Linked DNA regions of Homo sapiens: region 2 is linked to region 1. The links are contacts of gene promoters, found by promoter capture Hi-C in blood cells and fetal thymus (Javierre and others, 2016). All regions are on one chromosome and are shown on one strand. Each heading gives the region's core, a stretch centred on a gene start or on the middle of the fragment in contact. The rest is flanking DNA. Distances are from core to core; before and after follow the strand shown.

Region 1 (7,838 bases), core at 1,354-3,853:
GTGATGGGGGCCCTTCCTTTTTGGCTTCTTGGATGGCAGCCACTAAGCTTTTTGCCTGTCTTTTTGATGCTTTGTCTGCAGCCCTTTCAGCTGCCTGAGCTACCTGTTTTTGCTTTTCAAATTCTCGATTGTCGAAAACTCTCTGGGCTATCTCTAAAAGCTGGCTGATGTAAGGAAATACTTTCTGGCTTCTCTTCAGATATGGTCCCTCTCTTCAGAGGTGAAAAGGGATGAAAGGAGTTGCTGACACTCATCCCAGGTGGGCCGGTGAGTCTGGAGCACAGACTCCATCAGTGAGGTTAAGACCTGGGGCTTTTCAGAAAAGGGGGGATTATGAGCCTTCCAGTTGTACAGGTCAGAAGTAGAGAAGGGGACATAAACTAAAAATGGAGCACAACGCCCACTGCCCAAAGGGATTTGGGCCTCTGTCAGTGGGAGGAGCGGGGCCACCTCCTCCGGCTGAGGCCATAATTGGGAGGATATAGGCAGAGAGGCCACAGAGGATGTAGTTGAGGAGACAAGGGAAGATTCTGGGGGAGGAGGAGGGTTATAGGGTGGTGGAAATGGGTGAAGAAAACTTTCCTCTTCTTCAGAAGGAGGCAGTACAGGAGGAATCGAGGGAGCTGAGGGTGGAGGCAAAAGTGAGGTCTGGCTAAAAAGGACCTTGGAGGTAGGATCACGAATGGCTACAGAGTTTTATCACGAGTGGAGCCATGAAGGAGAGCTCTGGACTAAATCTAGCCATTGATCAATGTAGGGAAACTGATCGGGGTGACCGGGAGTTCCAACAACGACCCACCACACAGCCTGAACAGCTGTGAAGTGTAGTGACCCGTCTGGGGGCCACCCAGTTCCAAACTTTGGCCATTCTACTTCGCAGAGTGTCCAGAGTTTGCCTTTTTTAAGGCGGACCCCGTAATCATCTGAGAAGCCTAGAGAGAAATTCTGCAACATACACTGGAGAGGACTCCAATCTTTATGGGGCCGGGAAGAAGAGTTTACTATTCTGGAGGCAATTAACAAGGTTTGAACAAAAATATTAAACCCAGCATGGACAAAGATATTCACGGCCTGGGAGGCTATGGTATCAGAAGAACAGAAGTATTATAGCTAGAAGAAGTAGGAAAACAACTATAGCCAATATTTCTTGCCACATAAGGTCTGTCTCCTCAAGCTTCGAGATCTATGGAGAGGATAAGAGGTGGGTCCAAGGGATCCTCAGCCAGTGGGACTTAGGTGACCCCCCCTTCTTGACTTATATCCCAAATAACTTTGGTGTCTCCACGACTCGAAAGCAAAATGTTCAAACTCGGTCCTTTCCTTCACGGGTTTAAGGAGGGAGAACACAGCCAAGTCTTAGAGACGCTGGACTTGCTGCAACACAGGAAAATGAGATGTGCAGGGTAAGGGATGGGGATGAGGAGGAAAGGGGCCACTTGGATTTCCCTAAAGGTTGGAGAGTAGCCAAAAGAGGTAAAATAAGAGTCCAGACAGAGTAGAGCAGTATGGGTGTAGGTTTCTCTGCACAGTGCCTTATTTAAGGGCATGGGAAAAGTTATGGGATGACAGAAAAGGTGAGTAAGGAGGTCAGCAGGGTGGCTATTTTGGATCCACCACTGGTCTAAGGAGAAGGTGGACCAGTCGTTGGGGCGTGGGGTATGGCAATCCAAACGCCAGCAATCTTTATGGTGCCAGAAATCCTAAACGGGTGAATGTCTTCCACACCCTTCCCCATAACAACACCTAATTTGTTTCTGACAGGAAAGGCAGGACTGGGATGGCCAGCCCAACCGACTAATGAGGAATTTGACCTCCTGGGATAGAAAATCTGTACTAAGGACCTTGAAGAAGTCCTTGCCCAGTCATTTTGGGCAGTATCGACGATCCGACATATGAAATTTAGACAGACACTAAACAGGACAATAGGCACTGGGGTATATAAACAAGCATGGCAATTTTTATAGACAGACAAGGGGAGGGGGTCCCGTGATGGGATCAGTCAGATGCCCTCCTGGCTGCTCCCCTTTCGGGGACTTAGGCTCCTCTTGGCATTGGCAGGCTGGTATAAACCCCTGGCTTGGATCGAGCTATGCCTGATGCCGCCCTAAGCCTTATGAGGTCACCACGGAACCACAGGTGAGGGCCTTCTCGAATTCCCTAGCTTTCACCCTGGAGCTACAAACTGGAAATTCAAGCGCAAGCCCTTGAACTCCACATTCACTCACTCACTCACTCACTCAGAGTTTATTACAATTTTTATACCCATTCTAAAACAGAGATCTCCCGGAGACCTGAATGAGAGAGGGAGAAGAGATAGAGAGAGAGAGAGACTAGACTTAACAGAGAATCCTGACAGAAACCAGGACTCTGTCCTCCAGTGTCCTGGAGCATGGACAGAGTCTGAGGGAGGACCTTCGTCAGGGCCGTTTCCCTCCCAGAGAGACAGAGTCAGATCTGACTTACCTTCCCGGGACTAGAGACTGAGGACTCAGGAGTTGAATTTGGCTGGGCGCACCGGCAGTCGATCCGTTCCCCTCCAGAAGACAGTGGCCTGTGGAGCCCTGGAACGTCTTCAGGTGGCCCTGTAAGCCAGCTGTCTGTCTGGGGAAGCCCGGAATGAGTCAGGTCTTCACCCGGTGGCGAATCTCTCTGGGGCTTCCAAATGTCGTAACCGAGCAAGTCATAGAGAGAATGCCACACTCTGAGACTAATTCAGGAGTCCTTTATTGCTGGCGACTGAGAAAGAGCTAGAGCTTGAAATTCTCTCGGTCCGGAAGAAGAGGCTAGAGTTCTTTTTATACCTTGGCCTAAAGAGGGGAGGGGGAGTCTAGCTGAAGCAATTTTTTACAGAAGCAGAACAGGAAAAAATTAAAAGATAAATGGTTACAGAAACAGTTACAGGAAAATAAACAGTTCCAGGTGCAGGGGCTTAAAGTATCCCAAAGTGATAAAAGCAGGGGCTTTGGATACCACCAACCAAGTGTGCTCCCAGGAGCTGCTGGTACAGCTTGCCTCAGTATCTTATCAATAAGCGCATTCTTGGATGTGCTTGGAGTCAGCTTGCACCAGTTATGTCCTTAAGGAGGGGGACAAGGGGCTGCAAGCGAAGAAACCAAGCTAAGACTCTCTCAGCTATTGACTCTCTCGATATTGACTCTCAATTGAGTCTCCCAAGCTATTGACTCTCTCAGCTAAGAAAGAGTCAATCAGGATAAAACAAGATAGGGTATCACAATTTGATCTGCAAGATTATTTCCTGGACTTGTGAAAGGCGAGTCGTTTTGGTGCCCTGGGACATGTACAATAGCTATCTCTTCTGGCAATTGGAGATTGTTGAGGACACGAGCATCAGTTCTCTATGAACTAAATCTTGGCCTCTACTATTGATAAGAGCCCTCTCCATCCAAATTTTCCCAAATGTGTGTGCCTCCCCAGAGGGATACTTAGAGTCAGTATAGATAGATTTTCTTGGTTTTGTAAATGTCCTAAAGCTTGGCTGAGTGCAAACAGTTCACACCCTTGGACAGACCAATTATTAGACCCCCTTCCTGATTTTACTTTTTTAACAGTCTTTCCATTAATCACTGAATACCTATTATGTCTCTTTCTTTTAATCACCTGGGAGGTTCCATCTATGAATAAGTGCCACCCTGTCTTGAAGGGAGTTTTTCCTAAGTCTGGTTGAACTTTCGTATGGTAATTAATTCGATTTAAACACGCGTGCTCTCTCGTTTTACGTTTGGATCCCCCGTTAAAGAGCCTGCTGAATAAAGTGAATTATTAGTACTTAATATTAAATCACCTTTTTCCCAGAAAGATAGCCTCATATTTTAAAATTTTTGAGTTGGTAATCTCCCTCCTTGCGTTTTGATTTAATATAGTTTTAACTTGGTGGGTTGTGGCCTGAAGCGGCTGGGGAGTAACTTGAAACCTCAGCTGAAGGGACAGCACAGGCTGGGGCGTGGCCTGAAACAGCTGGGGAGTAACCTGAAACCACAGCCGGAGGGACCTGAGAGGGGAACCAAAGGGGCAGGATTGGGGGCGCTGAAGGAAGGAAGGTGATTTAGAGGATCCCATGTCTTGGTAGGTATGGGTTGTCTAGGCATGGGAACTCTTTCCTTTTTAGAAAGGTTGGTTTCTGATTTTCTCCCTCCAGAGTCTAAAGGGTAAAGGAGAACTGGTCCCTGCCGCCAGCAGAGGGCGTAATCGATTTTTCCTGGGACACAGGGCTCTTACTGTTAACATATTTGATTAACAGCTGACAAATTCGCTCTTCATTAGACTTAAATTTTGGCCAGAAAAGTGAGGGCTTAAGGATGGGTTCTCGAACTTAAATAAAACAACAATATTCTATCATCTGCTGTTTTTGTTTATACTTGGTTCTCTTATTATTTTTTCAATACTTTAGCATAAGCCCCAAGGGGCTATCAGAAGGAAATTCATCACTCTCTAGACTCTTTAGTTTTCCTGTCTTACTTGAAACGTTCCCCATCTTAGGGATTATGGGGAGGAGGCCCAACCCCTCCTGTGAGATTTCTACCCTCCCCCTTCCTGGAGGCTTACTGAGGCTTTGGGGAAAGGCTCCAACCCAACCTGTTTGGATTTCTACCCTCCCCCTTCCTCTTTGTCTACTCTGTCTGTTCCTGACTCTAGTTGACAGATGGCAGCATGAGGCCATAGAGAAGACTCACTCACTCCACATAACCACCATACTAAGTCCCATTCATACACTGTCAGCCTCCAGCTTATCCCAACCACCTGGGAAATACTTTGTCACCTTCGCCAAGTCTCCTACCTTATTCCATGCACAAGAATTTCCTGGTCCTCTTATTGTTGCGGTCTTGCAAGCTTCTCCTCCCCGCTTTGCTGAGATCCAGACTTATTTGTCACAAAGCGGGGGGGGGGCCCTGATCTCCCTCAACCTAGGGGCACGGTAACTAGACAGTAGGATGCGTCCCCTCCGGGTGGGGTGACCGAAGGCCCCCTTCCCAAAGGAGAAGATTCGAGCCCCAAAGTTGGGCTCCAGAACTGTTAGGAATAACGCTCAAAATCTTAAGGAAATTGAACACTTGAACAAAGGATTCTTAGCAAAGCAATTTTACTTCTGCGCAGAGAGGTGCCTCCTTGTCCAGTCGCCATGAGAGCACACCTGAAAAAGGGGCACGAGAGCCTTTACTCCTGACACAAGTACTGCCCCTGTACCCTTTCTCCATTGGCCAGGGTCAGGTCGTACAATCTAAACTAATCCTGGTTGGCTAAACATTGGATTTTTTTTAGATAAGGTGGGCACGTAAAAAAGGCAGAGAATAAAGGGGAAGGGGTGTCTGTAATGAGCTAAAAAGTTAGTCCTCTTTCCAAATAAGGAAAGGAATGTGAGCAGGTACAGATACCACCTGGTACTGTGGCATGCCTGGGCATGTAACAAAGGAAAAAAGAGAAAAAAGGAGAAAAAGGAAAAAAGGTGGAGGGATTACTATGAATTAAAGAATAAAAGATTGATCAGGTTATCTGAAGAGAAACCTCATCATATCCCACACATCCATCCATCCATCCATCCATCCATCATTCATCCATCCATCCATCCATCCATCCATCCATCATTCATCCATCCCCAATCCATGTATCCTTCCACCCATCCCTCCTTCCATTTGTCTTTCTATCCATCCTTCCTTCTTTCCATGTTTCCAACCATCCATCCATGCCTCCGTCCCTCCACCCATCCATTCGTCCATCCATTGTTCCATCCATTCCATCTATCTATTTATTCACCAGATATTATTGAGGCGGGGAATACAATAATTAACAGAACTCAAAAATCCCTTCTCTCATAGAGCTTACATGCTAGTGGGTAGAAACAGGGTAAGCAAGCAAACAGCAAATATATAAAATACATGACATATTGATAAACAAATGCTATGGAGAAGAAGAAAACACTTAGAAGGGCAAGAAGAAATATCAGAGGAGGTAGGTTAATTTTAAATAGGGTGATGAAGAAAGTCCTCTCTGAAAAGACGATAAATCGGCAAGGAAATTAAAAATACAAGTCAGAGAATTATTCTAATATCTGAGGGCAGAGCATCCCAGGCAGTGAGAATACCAAGGGCAAGAGCCCTGAGGCACAAGTACCTCTCTTGCGTAATTTTTTAGTAACGGTCAAGGTCCTCTTGGTCCTCACCAACTCTCCCTAACTTATCTGGGGGCTGATATTTTTGAACCAACAAAAGTGCTGGAAGGCAACACTGTAAGATTTTAAGGGTGCAAAACTTTCATGAAATGTCTGGGAAAATGCTGACAACAAATGAGGAAAAACAAATGAATTAGGTAGAATTTAAAATTAAATGTAATCAAATTCCACTGCATTGTACATTCAGAATACGTATTTTCTAAAATCGAAAGGCTTGTTAAATGAGAATAATTTCAAGTAAAAGTGTCTCTTTCATTTGGTTTTCCCAGTGGATGTATAAAATAACTAATTGAGCTAAATCTGTTATTTTTTAAATCCTTAATGCCTCTCTAGAATGTAAAAGTTCATTTCCTATTGTGGAAATTTTGAAAATTATGTAAAAGAATAACAAAAATAAACTTGTTGCCAAACAACATAGAAAAAAACCCTCTTAATATTCAAATCTTTCTAGATAGATTTTCTTTTATTTCTAAGTTTTGCTGGTTTGATAGTGTATAAAGCTTATTTTAATTTGCATTTTTATTACTAGTCTGTACAATTTTTCATGTCATTTAATGGTCAATTTTATGTAAAAACTTTCTTTGTGGCATCTGAGATTTTTCTTATTTATATGAATAAACTCTTTTGATTATAAGAAAATTGCCAAATGGTTTTGTCCAAGTTTGTTTATCTCTTATTTTTGTGTGTTTCTTTGCTTGTTTTTGTTTTGAGATGGAGTCTCACTCTGTCACCCAGGCAGGAGTGCAGTGGCGCAATCTCAGCTCGCTGCAACCTCTGCCTCCCAGGTTCAAGCAATTCTCGTGCCTCAGCCTCCTGAGTGGGATTAGAGGCGTGTGCCACCATGCCTAGATAAGTTTTATAGTTTTATTAGAGACCAGGTTTCACCATATTGGCCGGGATGGTCTCAAACTCCTGACCTCAAGTGATCCATCCTCCTCAGCCTCCCAAAGTGCTGGCATTACAGGCGTAAGCCACTGCCACTGGCCTATTTTTGCATAATTATATGTTCGGAGTTTACATTTCTATAGTCATGCACGGTCATTAAAGCAAAAAAAAAAAACTTATTTCCAACAATCTTCACTCTTCAGGGTTCTTTCAAATTTTACTGAAAACTATTTTCTACAGAAGCCTCTCTCATCTGTACATTGTTAAATATAATGTACAGTTAAATCTCACAATAATGCAATAAGTAGGGTCCAAATTTTTTTATATTTAATAGTTCATATAGCAACAGTCTCACTATGTTGCCCAGGCTGGTCTCAAATTCCTGGCCTCAAGCGATCCTCCTACCTTGACCTCCCAAAGTCCTGGCATTAAAGGTGTGAACCACCAGGCCCCGCTGGGTCCAAATTTTTAATCATGTAAAATGCAGAGCTGTTGCAAGGTTGTTGAAATGACTGGAGCAGCCCTGGACAGTCAGGCATTAGGGGGTTTGCCTGGGACATCCAAATCCCTTTAGGTCCCAGTTATAGTTTGGCATCATCTGCCCAGCATTTGCCAGATCTCACTTAAATACAACAGGGTAAGTCTAGCCCTCTGGATTACCTGGGCCAGGCAGGACAGTCACAGTGATTCCAGAATCTCCATGGTAGCTGCTACCCATCTTTCCAGCCCTCTCTTAGACAATGAATGGAGAGAATACTTGAAACATAAG
Region 2 (7,838 bases), core at 2,343-4,842, 1.2 Mb before region 1:
GCCCCTTGAGAAGCTGTAGATGTTCGCCTCCTGGTGCCAAGGTGTAGTGGTGAGAGAGAAGGCCTGACTCATCATCTTAGGAAATGAAATTAGTTACAAACACATTCATTCCCAGCCCAAGTCCAAAAGCTAATCCTCACCCCAGTTTAGTAATTAGCAGGTGACAATTTGGAGATTTGAGCCTACAGATTCGAAAAGTCTGGGACTGGAGGCCAAAATGGTGATTTCTGGTCCTGGATTCCCCATGGCCTGGCAAGCCACGTCCATCGTCCTCACTCACAAGAGTGTCGGCAGGACAGCAGGGAGGCCTGAGTCTTCTTGGCTTCAGCATCAATCAACAAGTATTCAATGGGCAACTGCAGGGTGCTTGCTACCCCGTGCTAGGTCCTTTGGGCAATCCTTGCAGATTTACAAAGTACAAAAAGAAAACATTACACCAGAAGCAAAGATAGTTAGAGCCAGTAAGACTAATCTGATGAGTAGAGGCCATTGTGTGTTGGAGCCAGCTCTTACGGACTTCCTGAGAGCCGATTGTTAATATTTCAGAAACTTTGCAAGCCACTTGTTAAAGTATCAGTAGCTTGAAATCAGCCATGAGTATTTTCACCAGGGGAATTGGCAGGCACTACAAATGAAAGTTTCTCCCCACCCCTCTAGAACTGGTTTACCAGCACTCCAATAAGGAGTTCCTAAAATATAAGGCTTTAAGGCAAGCGAGGGGAGTGGTTTTGCATGCGGGCTCTGAAATCACATAGATTTCTCTGAGCCTGTTTCTTCATGTGTATAGAGCTCACATATATTCAATGCTTACTATGTACCGGATATTATTCTCAACATTTATACGTATTAATGCATTGATACGAGTTAGTGGGTGCAGCGCACCAGCATGGCACATGTATACATATGTAACTAACCTGCACATTGTGAACGTGTACCCTAAAACTTAAAGTATAATAATTAAAAAAAAAAGAAATTACAAGTTAAAGTGCTGCAGCATAAAGAAGAAAAATAATCATTTATGCCATTTTTAATACAGAACCTATTTCCAAATCAAAACCCTTTACACTTGGAATATTGTCAAATCTCAAATTTTTACCTGGCTGAGATCTACGACCACCTTTTGAAACAGAGACAGTGTAGGTATGATTACTCCCTGTATACTCAAGGGTTAGGAAAATGGAAAAGAACCGTGAGCCCCTCAAGAATGGTGGCTTTTCTTATTGGAATGAAGTAAATAAAATAAATTCATCAGCAATGCATTTAATTTCTCTCTTAGCAATTAATTGTGTATCTACATTGAATGATAACTGTGTAAACAGTCAAGATATGCATGTGGCAAATGAAAAATAAAGCAAAATGTTTTATCTTAAAAAAAAATGCATTGATTCCTTGAAACAACCCTATGAGAGGAAATTATTATTGTCCCCATTCTATAGATGAAGAAAATCAAGCCCAAGAGAGATGAGGGAACTCCACCAATATCACACAGCTAGTCAGTGGCACAGCTGGGATACAAAGACAGGCATCTTGCCCCAGAGCCTGCCCTCTCACCTTCTAGCTCTGCACTGCCCGATACAGGAGCCACTGGCTGCATGGAGCTATCAGGTACTTGAAACAGGGCTGGTGTGACTTGAGAAGTGCTATAAGTGTGAAATACACATTAGATTTCAAAGACCTCATGTAAATATTATATATATATATATAAAATATCTTGCTAATACTATATCACTTACTTGTAGAAATGATAATATCTTGGATATATTGAATTAAATGAAAGATATTATTACTATTCATTGCACTTGTTTCTTTTTACTTTTTCTATTTTTTATTTTTTTGAGATGGAGTTTCACTCGTGTTGCCCAGGCTAGAGTGCAGTGGCACCATCTCGCCTCACCACAACCTTCACCTCGCAGGCTCAAGAGACTCTCCTGCCTCAGCCTCTCGAGTAGCTGGGATTACAGGTGTGCACCACCATGCCCGGCTAATTTTTGTATTTTTAGGAGAGACGAGGTTTTGCCATGTTGGCCAGGCTGGTCACGAACTCCTGACCTCAGGTGATCCGCCTGCCTCGGCCTCCCAAAGTGCTAGGATTACAGGCGTGAGCCACTGCACCCAGCCTCTTTTTACTTTTTTTTAGTATGAGTTGTAGAAAATGTTAAGTGACGTTTGTGATTCACGTTACATTTCTGTTGGAGAGTGCTGCTGGCTAGTGCCCTAACCTCCTAGTTCGGTGGATGCATTAAATCAGTTAATGCAAGGAGGGCACCTAGCACGCTGTCTGAAGCAAATTAAGCACCTAATAGCTATTATTAATATTAGTGAGCGTACTGGTTTTCAAATGTTGTAGTCTAGTATTTTTTCCCCCAAAAAAACTGGTTGTTTTTTTTTTAATTTTTTTAAGAGGAAAGTTCTTACTCTGTCACCCAGGCTGGAGTAGAGTGTTGTGATCATAGCTCACTGCAGCCTTGAACTCCTGGGCCTAAACAATCCTTCTGCCTCAGCCACCTGAGTGACTAGGACTACAGGCACATGCCACCACGCCCAGCTAATTTTTTAATTTTTTGTAGAGACAGGGTCTATTTTCTCTAGGTTGGTCTTGAACTTCTGGCCTCAAGCAATTCCCCCACTTCGGCCTCCCAAAGTGTTGGGATTACAGGCGTGAACCACCATGCCCGGCTCCCAAACAACTTCTTATAGCAGATAAAAGAGGAGCTTTTGCAGTAGAGTAGAGCTTTGAGGAGCCCTCTTGGGGAGCCCATTCACCCTGGGCACCACCTCCACAAACTGGAAAACCCACAGGATGACATAATCTTTAAGTGTCCTTCAAGCTTTAGCATTCCCTATCATTTCAGAGAAGTTGAGGAAGTGATTGGGAAAGAATTAAGGTGTCTATGGCAGTATATTACAACGACTATGGAAAAACACTCCCATTTTGCTTGGGAAAATCAAAGTGGCTTGGCCCCAGGTCTAGGCACAGCCCAGAAATGGGAGCATCACCAATGTGAGTTGTGGGGCTTGGCCCCAGGTCTAGGCACAGCCCAGAAATGGGAGCATCACCAATGTGAGTTGGGGGTCCCCGTGGGCTCCTGGATCATTACCTACGCACGTTCACACAGACAATACCGATGCACCATGTCACCTCTCCACTTCGGCTCGGTCACAACCTGCCAACTCCCCACCCACCCAGAACCTGGGCAGACCAGACACAGGCTCTAGGCGCCAATGTCCTAGTCTAGCTCCAGGGCCAGGCAACAGTGACACTCAGCCCAGGCACCACAATGATTTTGCTGTCCTGAAGGCAACTTAGGCTCAACCAGCCCTGGTGTCTGCCAGGCAGGCTCCCAACTCTGCCTCCAGCCCTCGCCCCTGGCTCTGGTATCGTATGTGTGGACGGGGAGAGCAGCCAACTCTTCGCCGGGCTCTCTAACAAGTTCCGCGGGTCTGTTTGTTAAAGAAAAATTCCAGTGGGTGCATCCAACACATGGAACTCAAGTACAGAAATTATATTTATCCGCCCCACTGCCAAGGAGATCACATGCCCCGTGAGTCACTCCAGATGTGCTCAAAAACAGAGTCTCTCTGTGGAAGGCCAGTTCCCCAATCCCAGAGAGCGTCAAATGAAGAGAGGTACCGACTCCTGTCCCACCCAGGACGCAGCCTTCAGCCTCCAGCCTTCTGAGGCAGAGTAGGCATTTCTGCACGTCTGCAAAAGGAAGGGAGGGAAGCACTCCATCATCTCACTGGGAAGAACGGCACGGGCATACCTGCAGCTACTGGGGTTCCACTGGGCTTGAGGGTCGATTTTTCACCTTTTGAAGGACAAGATGCATTGGAAGATGTTGCTGCTTCTGCTGTTGTATTACAATGCTGAGGCTTCTATGTGCCACAGGTGGAGCAGGGGTGAGTTGCTTTTTATTCATTTGTTTGTTTGATGCTCATTATACTTTCTTCAATGCAATTCAAAATTTGGAGGGAAGGACATTAGAAGCCCCGCACTCTCCTTTTGTCTAATCTCTGTCAATTCCTTGATGCTTCTTGACGTGTTCCCCCTTCTTAGAGGGTGATGGGGAAATGACACTGGAAAAAATCAAAGCTCCTGAGGGAATTAGGTTGAGGTGGAGAACCCAGAGAGTACCCCTTTCTGGCATCCCAGAGAGAACTCATTTCTGCTTCATAGAAAGTAGAACTCATTTCTTCGACTGCCCCCACCACCTGCAGCAGTTGGGCCAGACCGTCTGGAGAGCAGGTGCTGAGACCTGCTGCTAAAATGATGGAGTGATGGGCACTGGGATGCCAAAGGCCTGCTCCCTGGGGGAACCAGAGCAGAAGCTCTGCAGAACGTTGCCTCCTCACCGGGAGGGGATGCATCTCTGCAGCCAGAGGTGGGCAGGTGAGGAGAGCAACCCTTCAACCTCCACTGCACCCACCAGCTCCGCCACCTCCTCACAAAGGAAGGGGCCCCAGCAAAGGCTGTTCTCTTATCACTGACTTCCTCCCCCTCAGGATGTAGTTCCTCCTAGCTGGATGGCATCTTTTCTCCATTTCCCTGGGAGTGGCTCTGCTTGGTAGACACTGGGAGCACCTCGAGCCAGAGTTTATCACTGTTAGGAAAGGAGGGACCCACGGCACTGCCCACTCTTCACCAATATGAACGGAAATCTTTCCACTGCCTAAAGTCAACTGAGTTCACTCTCCTAGAAAGAACCGCAAGAAGAACAGGCTCCTTCAAGTCAGGCCAGTAGGTGTTTCTAGAGATGCAAAATTGGAAGGCAACTGGCATGGTGGCATGGATGCGCCTCCTGCTTGCTTCTCAAGGACAGTGTCAGGGAAGGAAGGAGTGGCCGGAGTGGGGATAGAGCAGCGCGAGAGAAGGATCTGAAATGGGAGGGAGGCAAAAGCTACTGTACTTATGCTGGGTTTTATTTCCTCATGGTTAAACGTGACATTAGGGACTTACATCTCTAACAGGGATATAAGTCTTTTGAGCTGAGCTGTGAAGTGATCGTTGCCCAGAAACAAATAATACAGCATTCTTCATTTTTCTCATAACAACCTTGCATACACATGCACATACACACGTACACCCCTCCCTTTTCTTTTTTTAATTTTTAATTTTTAATTTCTGTGGGCACATAGTAGGTATACATATTTATGGGGCCTATGAGATGTTTTGATACAGGCACGTCACATCATGGAAGATGGGGTATCCATCCCCTCAAGCATTTAGCCTTTGTGTTACAAACAATCCAGTGATACCCTTTTAGTTACTTTTATTTGTTATTTATTTACTTATTTATTTATTTTTGAGACGGAGTCTCACTCTGTTGCCCAGGCTGGAATGCAGGGGTGCAATCTTGGTTCACTGCAACCTCCGCCTCCCAGGTTCAAGCGATTCTCGTGCCTCAGTCTCCTGAGTAGCTGGAGTTACAGGTGCGCACCACCACGCCTGGCTAATTTTTGTATTTTTAGTAGAGATGGGGTTTCACCATGTTGGCCAGGCTGCTCTCAAACTCCTGACCTCAAGTGATCTGCCCACCTCAGCCTCCCAAAGTTCTGGGATTATAGGCATGAGCCATAGTGCCTGGCCCTCTTTTAGTTCTTTTTAAATGTACAATTAAATTGTTATTGACTGTAGTCACCCTGTTTTCACACCTCCCTTTTCATTGTGTGCACAAACTTTGAGGTAGCACTTGGAAGTAAAAAGCAAAGAGATCTTGGAGTTGGGTTCTGTCACTCCCCTCTTTGTCACACTGGGGATTTGCTTATTAAACAGGGTAACAGTGCCCACTCTTCCTAAGGCACAGGCTATTACAAAGCCAAAAGGGATTATTTGACTTGCAATATGGTTTGTAAACACGATAGCCACATCATGAGCTACTCTGCAAGGGTCCTGGTTTAAGTTCCATCTCTATTTGGCAATGTGATCTCAGACAAGTCTCTTAACCTCTCTGAGCTTTAGTTCACTAACGGGTGACATTAACATCCATCACATCAATAAAACCCTCATGCTATTACTGTGAGGGTCATATTCAAAAATATAGATGAAAATACTTTGTAAATGACAAAGCACAATATAAATATTAGCTATTGCCTACCAGTTTTTGAAAAATAAAAATTTTTCATTAAAGGAAGTTTAAGGCTCTTAACAGGGGAATCTACAGCAACATTCTGGGAGCAACTTCTCCGGGCCATGTCCTTCCGCATTGGGGAAGGTCTTTCCACAGTGAGTTCACAATCCACTGACTCAAAGCCAGCCAAACCGAGGTCACTATGAGGCAGCGGATGTGACGTGCTAGATTAATGGCTCAAGTCAGCGCTGAGTCAACAAATGATACAGAGTCCCTCCAACCATCATCAAATGTCTTCCGCGTAGTTGATTTTTTTTTCATTTTTAACATTTTTTTCTAATTATAAAAGAAATACACAATTCTTGCCATCTTTTTTTTCAAGACTGAATAGGAGTCACACCCAAATGAGTAAGTTTTTCCAAATGTATTATTCATTTCACCTTCATCCTTACCCCCACCCTACCTCCAGCCTCAATTCAAAGTACTCCCTTTGGAAACAGTCTTAGGGCAATCTCTTCCAGAGCTTTTCCTCTTCCACCCCCTGCCCTTTGGCCCCCAGCCCCACCACTACCCCGTGTCCATCCTCCCACCCTCCTGCTCCAAAATGTAAATGTAGATGTAAACCCACAGGCAATATGCGCCTTGTTGTTAGCACTGTCTTTTTCCTACCATCCTCCCAGCCTTTCCCTAAGCGCTCTCTAGGATTCCACCCTGGGAGGCAGCTTTCCATGCCAGGATCCAGGATCACCCATTCCAGCCCCACCAGTTTGATGAAGACCAAATGACTCACCTGTGGCCAAGCCAGGAAAGCCACATCTACACACACACACACATACACACACACAGAAACACACACACACACACACAGGTGGCCCACGTCCCAGCACATACCAGGTCCTGCCAGGGCACCACTGGAAGGGGGAGGACTAGCCAGACTTGAGAAAGAATTATGCACCTATTAAGGATATGAATGAAATATGCACCTATTAAGGATATGAATAGCTATGCTTTTGTTGAATACATACAAGTTATTTTTTAAGTAGTTTAATAGAGCAGCCCTTCCATTTTTTGGTGGACCTTATGTCATTTTCAGGTGTCCATTTAAGGGTTGTGTGTGTCCTCAGTCATGAATGTTCCATGAGGGAAAGGCCTGTGGTCAGTACTCAGTAAGTACTCACTGACTGCCGGGCACGGTGGTGCACGCCTATAATTCCAGTGACTCAGGGGAAAGTTAAAAAAAAAATTAGCTGGGTGTAGCAGCACATGCCTGTAGTCCCAGCTACTCAGAAGGTTAAGGTGGTAGGATCACTTAAGGCAAGGAGATCAAGGTGGTAGGATCACTTAGGCCCAGGAGGTCAACGATGCAGAGAGCTATGATTGCGCCACTTCACTCCAGCCTGGATGATGGAGCAAGACCCTGTATCCAAAAAGAAAATTGTTTTAAGTATTCACTGCCCAAGTGCCCCATACAGAGCCATCTCCTCTCTCCATAGTAACTCTGTGAGGCAGGTGCTATCCTAACCATTTACAGGTTAGAAAATTGGAGAGTGAGGCAAGAAGTGAAGTGACCCAGCTCCCCCAGCTGCAAGGGCAGAGTTGAATTTGATCCCCCAGGTCCATCTGCTGGCAGAGTGCCCCGTCCTCATTCATCCGCTCTGCATATTTCTCCATCCCCCATGGGCCACTCACCTGCTCCCGGCAGCCCCAAGCTCCCCCCTACATGGTGGAGCTTTCCAGCCAAGAGGAGCTGGCTGCCAGAGCCCTTTCAGG

The links. The method cuts DNA at HindIII sites, captures the fragments that hold promoters and counts their contacts. A CHiCAGO score of 5 or more calls a contact.
Region 2: a contact is called between the fragment with the promoter of FAM180A here and the fragment with the promoter of AKR1B15 in region 1, in 4 of 17 cell types (naive CD8 T cells, total B cells, total CD8 T cells and 1 more). The highest score is 10.9, in naive CD8 T cells.

Annotation. Positions count from the first base shown.
Region 1 is chr7:134,543,875-134,551,712 of GRCh38, reverse strand. It overlaps AKR1B15 (aldo-keto reductase family 1 member B15), which reads right to left and starts at 2,603. Exons shown (of 12, transcript NM_001080538.3): 1 at 2,464-2,603. LOC105375520 (a long non-coding RNA gene) reads left to right here. Exons shown (of 3, transcript XR_928005.3): 3 at 1-4,356. RefSeq lists an enhancer at 2,533-2,592. The HindIII fragment of the contact is 2,317 bases long and covers 1,177-3,493 here.
Region 2 is chr7:135,744,567-135,752,404 of GRCh38, reverse strand. It overlaps FAM180A (family with sequence similarity 180 member A), which reads left to right and starts at 3,592. Exons shown (of 4, transcript NM_205855.4): 1 at 3,592-3,900. The coding sequence starts at 3,825. RefSeq lists an enhancer at 5,955-7,154. The HindIII fragment of the contact is 5,471 bases long and covers 2,831-7,838 here.